Regions from separate parts of the Homo sapiens genome. Here all the other regions are linked to region 1. Evidence: promoter capture Hi-C in 16 types of primary human blood cells and fetal thymus (Javierre and others, 2016). All regions are on one chromosome and are shown on one strand. The core of a region is centred on a gene start or on the middle of the fragment in contact, and the rest is flanking DNA. Distances in the headings are between cores, read along the strand shown.

Region 1 (2,700 bases), core at 34-2,533:
TGGGGAGGGGGAGCCCAGCGGGGCGCAGGGCCGTGGCCAGGGCCTGGGGACCTGCCCGCTTCCCTCCGCGGCCGCCAAGCCCTACCGCTGGGACCGGCGAGGAACTCCCCCCAGCCTCTCCGCAGACGCTGCACGACCGCGGGGACCTCCCGGGGTCGCCAGCCGCGCCGGGCAGGGGGCGACAGGGAGGGCAGGGCACCGGGAGATCGCCGCCGCCGGAGCGGCCGCCAGTTCCCGGCGATCGCTGCGGGCGCAGCCGAACACCAGCGGCCTGGGCCCGGCCGCTGCTCGGGGTCGGCGGGGACCGCGCAGCGCCTACGCCAGGCGGCCCGGCGGCTGCAACTGGGAACTTCAAGCAAAGTTTTCTGCTGTTCCTTTTGCAGCCGGCCAGGGACTCAAGAGTGCAAGCCGCCCAACCTTGAGCACTAGCCCAGGCCGCGGAAGGACGGCGGCCGAGCTGGCAGTCCCGGCTGGGGAGCTCGCCCTCGGGGTCCGTCCGCTCCGCCCGCCCGAGGACTGGGTGCCTGCCAGCCCCACGGCCCCTCGCCCAGCGCCCGGCTCACAGGCAGAAGCGGTGTCCGGCCCGCCGCGCCCCCCGCCCGGCCCCGACGCCAGCCTTAGGGCTCTACCACCAGGGAGCTGTCGGCGTCCCGGGCGTCCCGCGCCGGCCCGCGCGCCTCGGGGGCGGCAGAGGCGGTCCCGCTTACCTGAGAACGTCTCGCCCGCCGCAGTTAGCAAAAGTCCGGCCAAAGTCGCCAGGCAAGTCCCAAGTCCCCTCATGGTGCTGAGTGCGGGCCGGGCCGCTCCCCGGCGGCGGTGGGTGGGCGCGCGAGGGCGGAGGGGGCCGGGAGCTTTGGTTCCGAGGCAGCGAGGAGAGACGGGTAAACAGCAGAGCGCTAAGCCAAGCCCCCAAAGTGCCAACAGTTGCAGAAGTCCGAACTCCAGCGGCTCCAGGGGCGCGGGCACAGGGTCCTGGGTCCTCCTCCCCTGTCCCTGGCCCCACTCGGCGTCTGGCGCCGCTGGCAGAGGGAGCGGAGGGCGAGCCCGCGGAGCCAAAATCTTCCCTCGGTTCCGGTTGCTGAGCTCGCCGCCTCTCCCCTTCCCCTGCCCGGGACCCGGGACCCGAGCTGCCGGCCGTGGCCGTGGCGGTGGCCGTGGCCGTGGCCGCGCGCGTTCCGCCCGCCGCCTCTCCACAGGCAGCCCCAAGCCCAGCCCCGGGCGGCGGCGCGCCGATGACCGAGCCCGCGCCGGCTGCGCGCGGGGCTCTTGCTCCCCGACTGACTGGCGGTGCCCCGCAGGCCGGCTGAAGGGAGCGCTCACGTCACGGCCGCCCGGCGCCGCCGCGGCCCGCTAGAGGGCGTGAGCGCCCGTGCCCCGCCGGCCCGCGCCCGAGCGCCTCCGGGAGCTCGGCTGGGGGCGGCCCCGCGGCCACAGCCACTACCGCCGCCGAAGCGGGCGTCAGCCGCGCGGGGAGGAGCGGCCACCGGGCTCCCCCCGCCCACCTCCTCGCCCCGGCCGCGTCTTCTATTTTGGTAGCTGGCTCTGGGGAGGGTGACTGTGGAAGAGGCTGCGCCGCCGCCAGAAGTTTGTCCCGGGTCACGAGCCGCGAGTAGTTTGTGAGCGCGGCCGGGCGGGACCAGCGGCCTGCGACCCCGCGGGCGCGGCCAGGCGGCTTCGAGCCTGGCGCCGGACGGCGATGTCACCGCACAGGGCCAGCTGCACCCGGAGTCGCCGGGCCTGCGCTGCTCGGCGGCTGCGGGAAAAGCGAGCCAGGAGATCGCTGAGGCTCCGGAGGGCTGCGAGCTTCTCTACGCCGCGGGCGGAGCGAAGTTGGCGGGCGCCGGGAGATGGCGCGGGAGCCGGGAGCGCCGAGCCCCGCGATCGCCAGCCCGCTCCCGGCCGGGCCCGCCGGGTACACGCCGCTGGCCCCGAGCACTGGCGCCCGGGAAGCAGGGCGCGCTTCTGCTGTTCTGCGTCCTCATCATGCCTCGGTGTCCCGTGTGGGCCCGAAGCGAGCCGCAGGCAGTACACGGAAGGCGGTGGTCACACCAAAACCAGGGTTTGGACATAACCCGTGGTTTCTGTATCTGGTGCAAAGTGCTGAGAAACAGGGGAGAAAGAGAAGTGGGGGGTGAATCAAGTAATGTCTTGAAATATTTTAGTTTTACGATTTTGGGTCTGAGTGAATTAAAAAAACCTTACAATGCTTCAGCAAAAAATAATTTTTTTATTTTAATTGTAAATTTTTTTGTAAGTGATCCTTCTATCTTCCAGGGAATAAGCACATTGAGCCAGCACCAACCAGACAGCTGTAAGCTCCTGGCCTAGCTAACTGAACGCAATAGAAGGCTTGGGAAGAGGTTAAATTAGGAACCAAAGTAACTGAGTGACAGGGTTCTAGCAATGATTCTGGCTAGAAGGCAAACCGGTGATACAGAGGCACCCAGGAGCTCTCCTGCACTTTTTCCGCAAGAGGGGTCCTCTGCTTAGTGCTCACTGCTTTCTAGTGCTTATAAACACGTAAAAAAATAAATGGATTCCACACTCATCTTGACCCTGTTCTCCACTGTACACCAGAACCAAGAAAGATACAGCTGTCATCCTCCCAAGGCAAATTTGGGGACTAGAAGACTTGCCTTTAGTGTGGCAACCAACACTCCTCTTACTTCAGGAAGTCCACTTACTAGATACTTACCAGAC
Region 2 (2,758 bases), core at 175-2,674, 830 kb before region 1:
CCTTAAATTATCTCCTAGTGCAAATAACAAATATTTTACTAGCCTGTATTTCCCTTAAATAGACCACTTTTTCCACACACAATGCCAATAAAGGTAGAAGTATTTTTTTAACTTTTTAACTGGAAAAAATTATTTCTTGCCCTGGGCAAAATTAGATTTCTGATTCATATTCTAGTATTTATTATTTCAGGATTTGATACTTTTATTTTCAGAATATTTAAAAGAGATAATTGGAATTTCAAAATTCCAAAAGGCCACGTTGTCAGATCACCAGGCCGACATCTTGGCTGTGAAGTGCTCCCATCATGCTTTTGTGAATCACAGGGACAATTCTTTCTGTAATGGAAATCTACACGGTCCCATCCCTTACTGCATAAAAAAGATTTTATACAAGCCTAATTGTGCAATTAATTTCAGTGGCTACTCAGAGCCATCCTTTTAACATATTTCCTTTTAACATGTTAAAATGCACCTAGTGGAGAGATGTGGCTGCTGCCCTCAGGCCACAACACAGGCCGGAAACTCAGGAGGGATTTTGGGCTTCGCTGCTAAGGAGCTGCTGCTTGGAAGTCACCGAAGCTGCCCTGTCTCAGGCATGACTATAATTTTCAAAATGAATTCTCCCTCTCCCACCTTATCCTTCCTGAGCAAGCACCCAGTCCCCATAGATTCTGTGATGACTGGTTTCTGAATCAGAAAAATAAGGGGAAAGAGAAGGAAGACCACAAATTGTTGTGTCCCCTCCCCCAAGCACCTGGGTAAATGCCTGAAATCTTCCTACATTGGAAACTGATTACATTTGATTACCAGGTATAGGTCTATCTGCTGCAGTTTCCTCTCTCAGCTCACTCCCTTTTGAACAGTATAATTAAGCCACATGAGCCATCCCTGTGCTCCAGGGGAAAAAGGAATGTTTAGGCCTTGGTCCTGAGTGCTCCAATTTGGGTGACATTAGCTGGCTTCGGGCATGAGGAGGTGCCCTGAGTAGGGGCTCAGGTGGGAGCCTGGCCCGGTCCTCCTCACATCCTTGGGTCAGACCGTAACCAGGGCAACCTGCTGCTATTCCTCACCAAGGTCCCTGACGCTGGCCCCGCTCCCGATCAGACTTCCTGTACCTATGAGTGGGAGAAAGCAAAATGTGCAAGGGAACTGGAAATTGAGGTTGGCTGTTAAAAGCCACTGCTAGCTTGGTGAGGGCGTCACGAGGCCAGCACACCAGCGGGCGGCACTGGGGGCCTCCGTCAGGGGCCCGAGCCTTGTCGTCTGCGCAGGCTGCCTGTGTCTAAGGAACTCAGGCTGGCGGCCAGCGTGGGCACTTCAAACACCACATCAACGGCCTCCAAAGGTTCAAAGAGAATAGCCTCCACCTCTGACCTGGTTGCTTTTGAAACTAAGGCAAGCTCTATGATTTTGGCTAGACCCTGAACGGACAGATCCTTCGGGCTGGAAAAATTCTTCTGAGTGATGCCCTGCCAGAAGGGCAGCGTGGGCCCTATTACCGTGGTGGGATCCCTCAGTTCAGTGTTCCCAGCCAGGTTGTGGCCAGCCACTCTGTGCCAAGGAGACCAATAAATTCTCATCCCTGCTCAGCGAGACAGCAGCATGTCCCTGGAATGATGAGTGGCTCATTCCCTTAATCTCTATCTTTAATACCTATAGGTAGAACTTTCTTCACCAAAGCCCCCTGCAAAATCCATGCCCAGTTCCTTATTGAGGCCCTGCTGAGCACAGCCACAACCTCCCCTAGGTTGGAGAGGGCAGCAAAGGGTGGCTCAGGTTGGACTCAGGTCTGGCTGCAGAGAAGAATGGTTCAGTCACTCAGAAAATGCTTACTGGGAAACTCCTGGGAGCCAGGCGCTTGGCTGGTGCTGAGTGTAGGGGGCAGGATGGGCAAGTGGAATCTGGGGGTGGGGAGAGGGGATGGGGTATTAGCAAAAATTATTACAAACCTTCCTCAACAGTGCAGGAAGACTGACCATGGGTGGATTCAAGGTGCCTGGAGTGTGGATTGGGGACCCTAGCTCACCTCTGATTCCCACCCAACTCCTGCACTCACCACCCCAACACATGCACACACACATGCACAGCCGTTAAATAGGCTGCAAATTTCACAGCAAGAGCTATTGAGGGACAGCCTATACACACCAGTTGGTGGCACAAGGGGGAGAGCTGTAGGCCCCACACCACATTGCATTTTGTATGTGAGTCCATTGTTGGCTTACTAAAGGGGAGGTGAGGCTGAGTCTGGAGGGTCGGCTGTAAGTTACAGAGGGGGCAACCTGAACCTGTGCGGCAGATCCGCAGATCAGGATGGGGCCTGGCTCTGGAGTAAGTGGGACGGAGGGGGAGGGGGCGGCGAGCTGTGAACACCGCCGCATGGCACTGCAGGGAAGGGAGAGGCCCGCTGATCCTCCTACACCAACTTTCTCAGCCGTGTGGCACGTCTATCCTACCTGGCGGGGGCTCCATCTCAGAGCCTCTGGCTGAAGTGGGCTGGGGCAGGCCTGTGCACTGGTATTTCTGAAAGCTCCCCCGGGAGTTGGGGGTGGGCGGATTCTCAAGTGCAGCCTGGGCTGATACTGCGTCTAGAGCAGACATGGTTCTTAAGCTAGGCTGCACATGAGACTCACCAGGGGCTTTTAACACTCGGCTGCTGCAGCCAGGCCCCTGACCAATCGAATCAGTCTCCAGGTGGGCCCAGGGATCAGAATTGTTCTAAAGCTCCCAGATGACTTCAGTGGGCAACCAGGCTTGAGAA
Region 3 (2,700 bases), core at 111-2,610, 920 kb before region 1:
TCCTTTCATCTCGGCCTCCCAATATGCTGGAATTATAGGCGTGAGCCACCACATCTGGCCCCCTGAAGAATTATTGAGCCACAAGTAACCTTCTCTAATGCCCTCCTTCAGAAGTGATGATGTTTTCTATCATTAACTGTTTCCCTATGTGTCACAAACACAGTCCACCACAGAATCAACTGTCAAACTGTGAAATCACATCTTCAGTTTCCAGGGGTTTTAATAGACAGGGTCTTTCTTTAGAAAACCTGTTCTTGGGGTTTGGAGTAGCTTTCGATTTAACTGGGTCATGGTCCTCACAGAGGGAGTCATTTCCTGGTTGCCAGAGGCTGGGTTTTAGGTAATAGTTGTAGTCTTCGTCCCTACCAGGCATACTCCAGAAGTCAAGGGAAAACTTGAGTCATTTAAGTTTGAACAGGTTTTCTACTGCTTTGCCCACCTTCCTCCAGAAGTGCTAAAAGAACAGGAGCTATTAGAGTCTTTCTCACCTACCTGACCTCTGAAAGCTGGGACTCCTGAAGGCTCAGGCAGCCCAGAGTCATCTTCTCTTTTCTTCCCATACTTTCTTCCCATATGACTGCATAAGTTACCCTGAATTTAAGTTTCATCTTCATGCTGCTGTCTCAAGTCCATGCATTTCAGCCTAGATCTCTCCTCTGAGATACGAGTCGACATATCCAACTTCTGGAGAGAGACCAGCCTAGACCAAGTGTTGGAATGAAGGTTGTTGGTGTGTGGGAGGGGTACATCAGGATGATATTATTCAGCCTTTTGATTTCCCAGAAGAGTATTCTGAGACCCCCAGGGTTCAGGGTTATGTTCATTTGGCATTTTCAGACAACCTCCTGTTGTATCTGTCTGAAACACTGCAATTAATTTTGCATGTCTTAAAAATCTCTTTATTTCCCCCCCAAACCACCTCTTCATGACCCAGCTTTGCCTCTGACAGTGAGTGGCACCATGACTTTCCACTTCCTTAAGCTGGAACTGAGGAGTTACACCTGACTCCCCCACTTCCATCATTAGTCCATCAGCAAGTCCTATCAGTTCTCCTTCAAAAATAAGCCTCAAATTTGCCCATTTCTTGCTACGGCCACCATCTCTACCTGGTCCATGCCACTGTGATGGAGGGCTTGGACCACTACAGCAGCCTCCTTTTAGTCTTTTCTTGTTCCAGTCCAAAAAGCAAAAAAAAGTGACCATCCTAAAATGTAACTCGAAACCCAAGAGGACCTAAGAAAACAGCATGTCAGAAGCTCAAAGCGGCAGAGCTGATGGTGAATTTGCAGAGCCCAGGGGCCCCCCGGGTGGCTGGAAGGCAGACTGTGAGGAGCTGATGAGAAACAGTTACCGCTGAGGGAGTCAGCCAGTGCCCAGTGCACAAAGCTGTGCATCAAGTTCTGTGGAGCCGGAGAGCAACGCACATGGGCAGTGGGTGCTGTCCTTCTATGGTGGCACCGGTTGCAGCCAGCACTGTGTTCTGTGAACCAAGACATAGCCCTGAAGCCCTGAGCCTCGAATGAAAGAGTTGGAGAGATGATCACTGTGGTCCCTTTCGGCTCTGTTAATCTGTCATCCTGCGACTTTAGACAGGACTTGGATTGTGTCTTGCTGCACTTCATACCGGGGGCCTGTCCTGGTAGCTGGACCATCCTTGATTTAGTGCATTAGTTTTACGGAGGCCCTGGCTCACCTAATGCCCACGTTGAAGTAACAATTTTTCTCTGACAATCTCTCCCTTTCCTTCTCCCCCCTTCTCTTCCTTCCTGGTAGCCTTTATCCTCCATGAAGTTGAGTGTTCAGGCTGCTGCTTGGCTGTCAAGGGCCTTCCTGATTTCGGACATGTCTCCCCATACCCTAGGTGGACGAGAACTAATGTTGTAAATTTCTATTGTTTATAAGGTACCCAGTCTATGGTATTTTGTTATAACAGTGTGACTGGACTAAGACAGCTAGCCAAGTTACCAAATCATGAATAAGAGTAGGGTAAAAAGATTTTAGACCTACAAGTTCTCAAATTTCATTCTCCATGTACTCTTCTAAGGAAGCTACTGGAAGATGTCCTCCTCCAAAATAAGCAAGTGAGTCAAGAAGAGGAAGACATGGGATTTACCCAGGAAAAGAGGTATAGGGACATCAGGAAAGCAGCCGAGGTTATAATGGGCTGGACACCAAGAAGGAGGTCTTAAGAAAGAAGATGAAATTGATCAGATGCTCTGAGGCATTTGAATAGATTGTAAGGAGATACTACAAGTGGTAGGGAATTGAGGATAAATTAATAATCAAAGAAAACAAAAATGAAAATTTATAGAAGGGACATTTAATTACTGTACCTATGTGGCTCAGCTGTGAATAATATTTAATTATAATAACGTAAACCTTGATGTTGGTGTGTGTTTATGTGGGTTGGGGTAAAAAAAAGAGCTATATATTCATCTTCTATAACAGAAACCAACAGGCACTATCTAAAAATTTTTTTAAAAGTCAAAAAATCACAGTATTCCCATTTATTTAGAAATATGGAGTCAAAAACCATAAGGAAAACTTAAAAGAGTGGTTGCTTTCTAGGAAATCAGAACTGAGAGTGAGGAAGGGTGGAGAGAGAGATGCCTCTTTTTTGTTATAAGCCTTATAAAACTATTTGACTTTTAAAAACACTTATATACATAAAACTGCATGAAAGGGAGGAAAGGAAGAAAG

What was found. Contacts are between HindIII fragments. The CHiCAGO score rates a contact against its expected background, and 5 or more counts as called.
Region 2: a fragment that was not itself captured here is called in contact with the fragment with the promoter of PTPRM in region 1 in 2 of 17 cell types (M0 macrophages and fetal thymus); the score reaches 5.7 in M0 macrophages.
Region 3: a contact is called between a fragment that was not itself captured here and the fragment with the promoter of PTPRM in region 1, in 1 of 17 cell types (endothelial precursors). The highest score is 7.7, in endothelial precursors.

What each region holds. Positions count from the first base shown.
Region 1 is chr18:7,565,899-7,568,598 of GRCh38, reverse strand. It overlaps PTPRM (protein tyrosine phosphatase receptor type M), which reads right to left and starts at 1,283. Exons shown (of 33, transcript NM_001105244.2): 1 at 708-1,283. The coding sequence starts at 780. RefSeq lists a silencer at 1,233-1,602. The HindIII fragment of the contact is 6,488 bases long and covers 1-2,700 here.
Region 2 is chr18:8,400,199-8,402,956 of GRCh38, reverse strand. All of the region lies in intron 32 of PTPRM (protein tyrosine phosphatase receptor type M), which reads right to left. It overlaps LOC124904241 (a long non-coding RNA gene), which reads right to left. Exons shown (of 2, transcript XR_007066275.1): 2 at 1-2,758. Among named protein-coding and RNA genes, the nearest start is that of RAB12, 210 kb to the left of the region's middle. RefSeq lists an enhancer at 1,203-1,733. The HindIII fragment of the contact is 3,533 bases long and covers 1-2,758 here.
Region 3 is chr18:8,483,826-8,486,525 of GRCh38, reverse strand. No RefSeq gene overlaps it. Among named protein-coding and RNA genes, the nearest start is that of RAB12, 120 kb to the left of the region's middle. The HindIII fragment of the contact is 4,223 bases long and covers 1-2,700 here.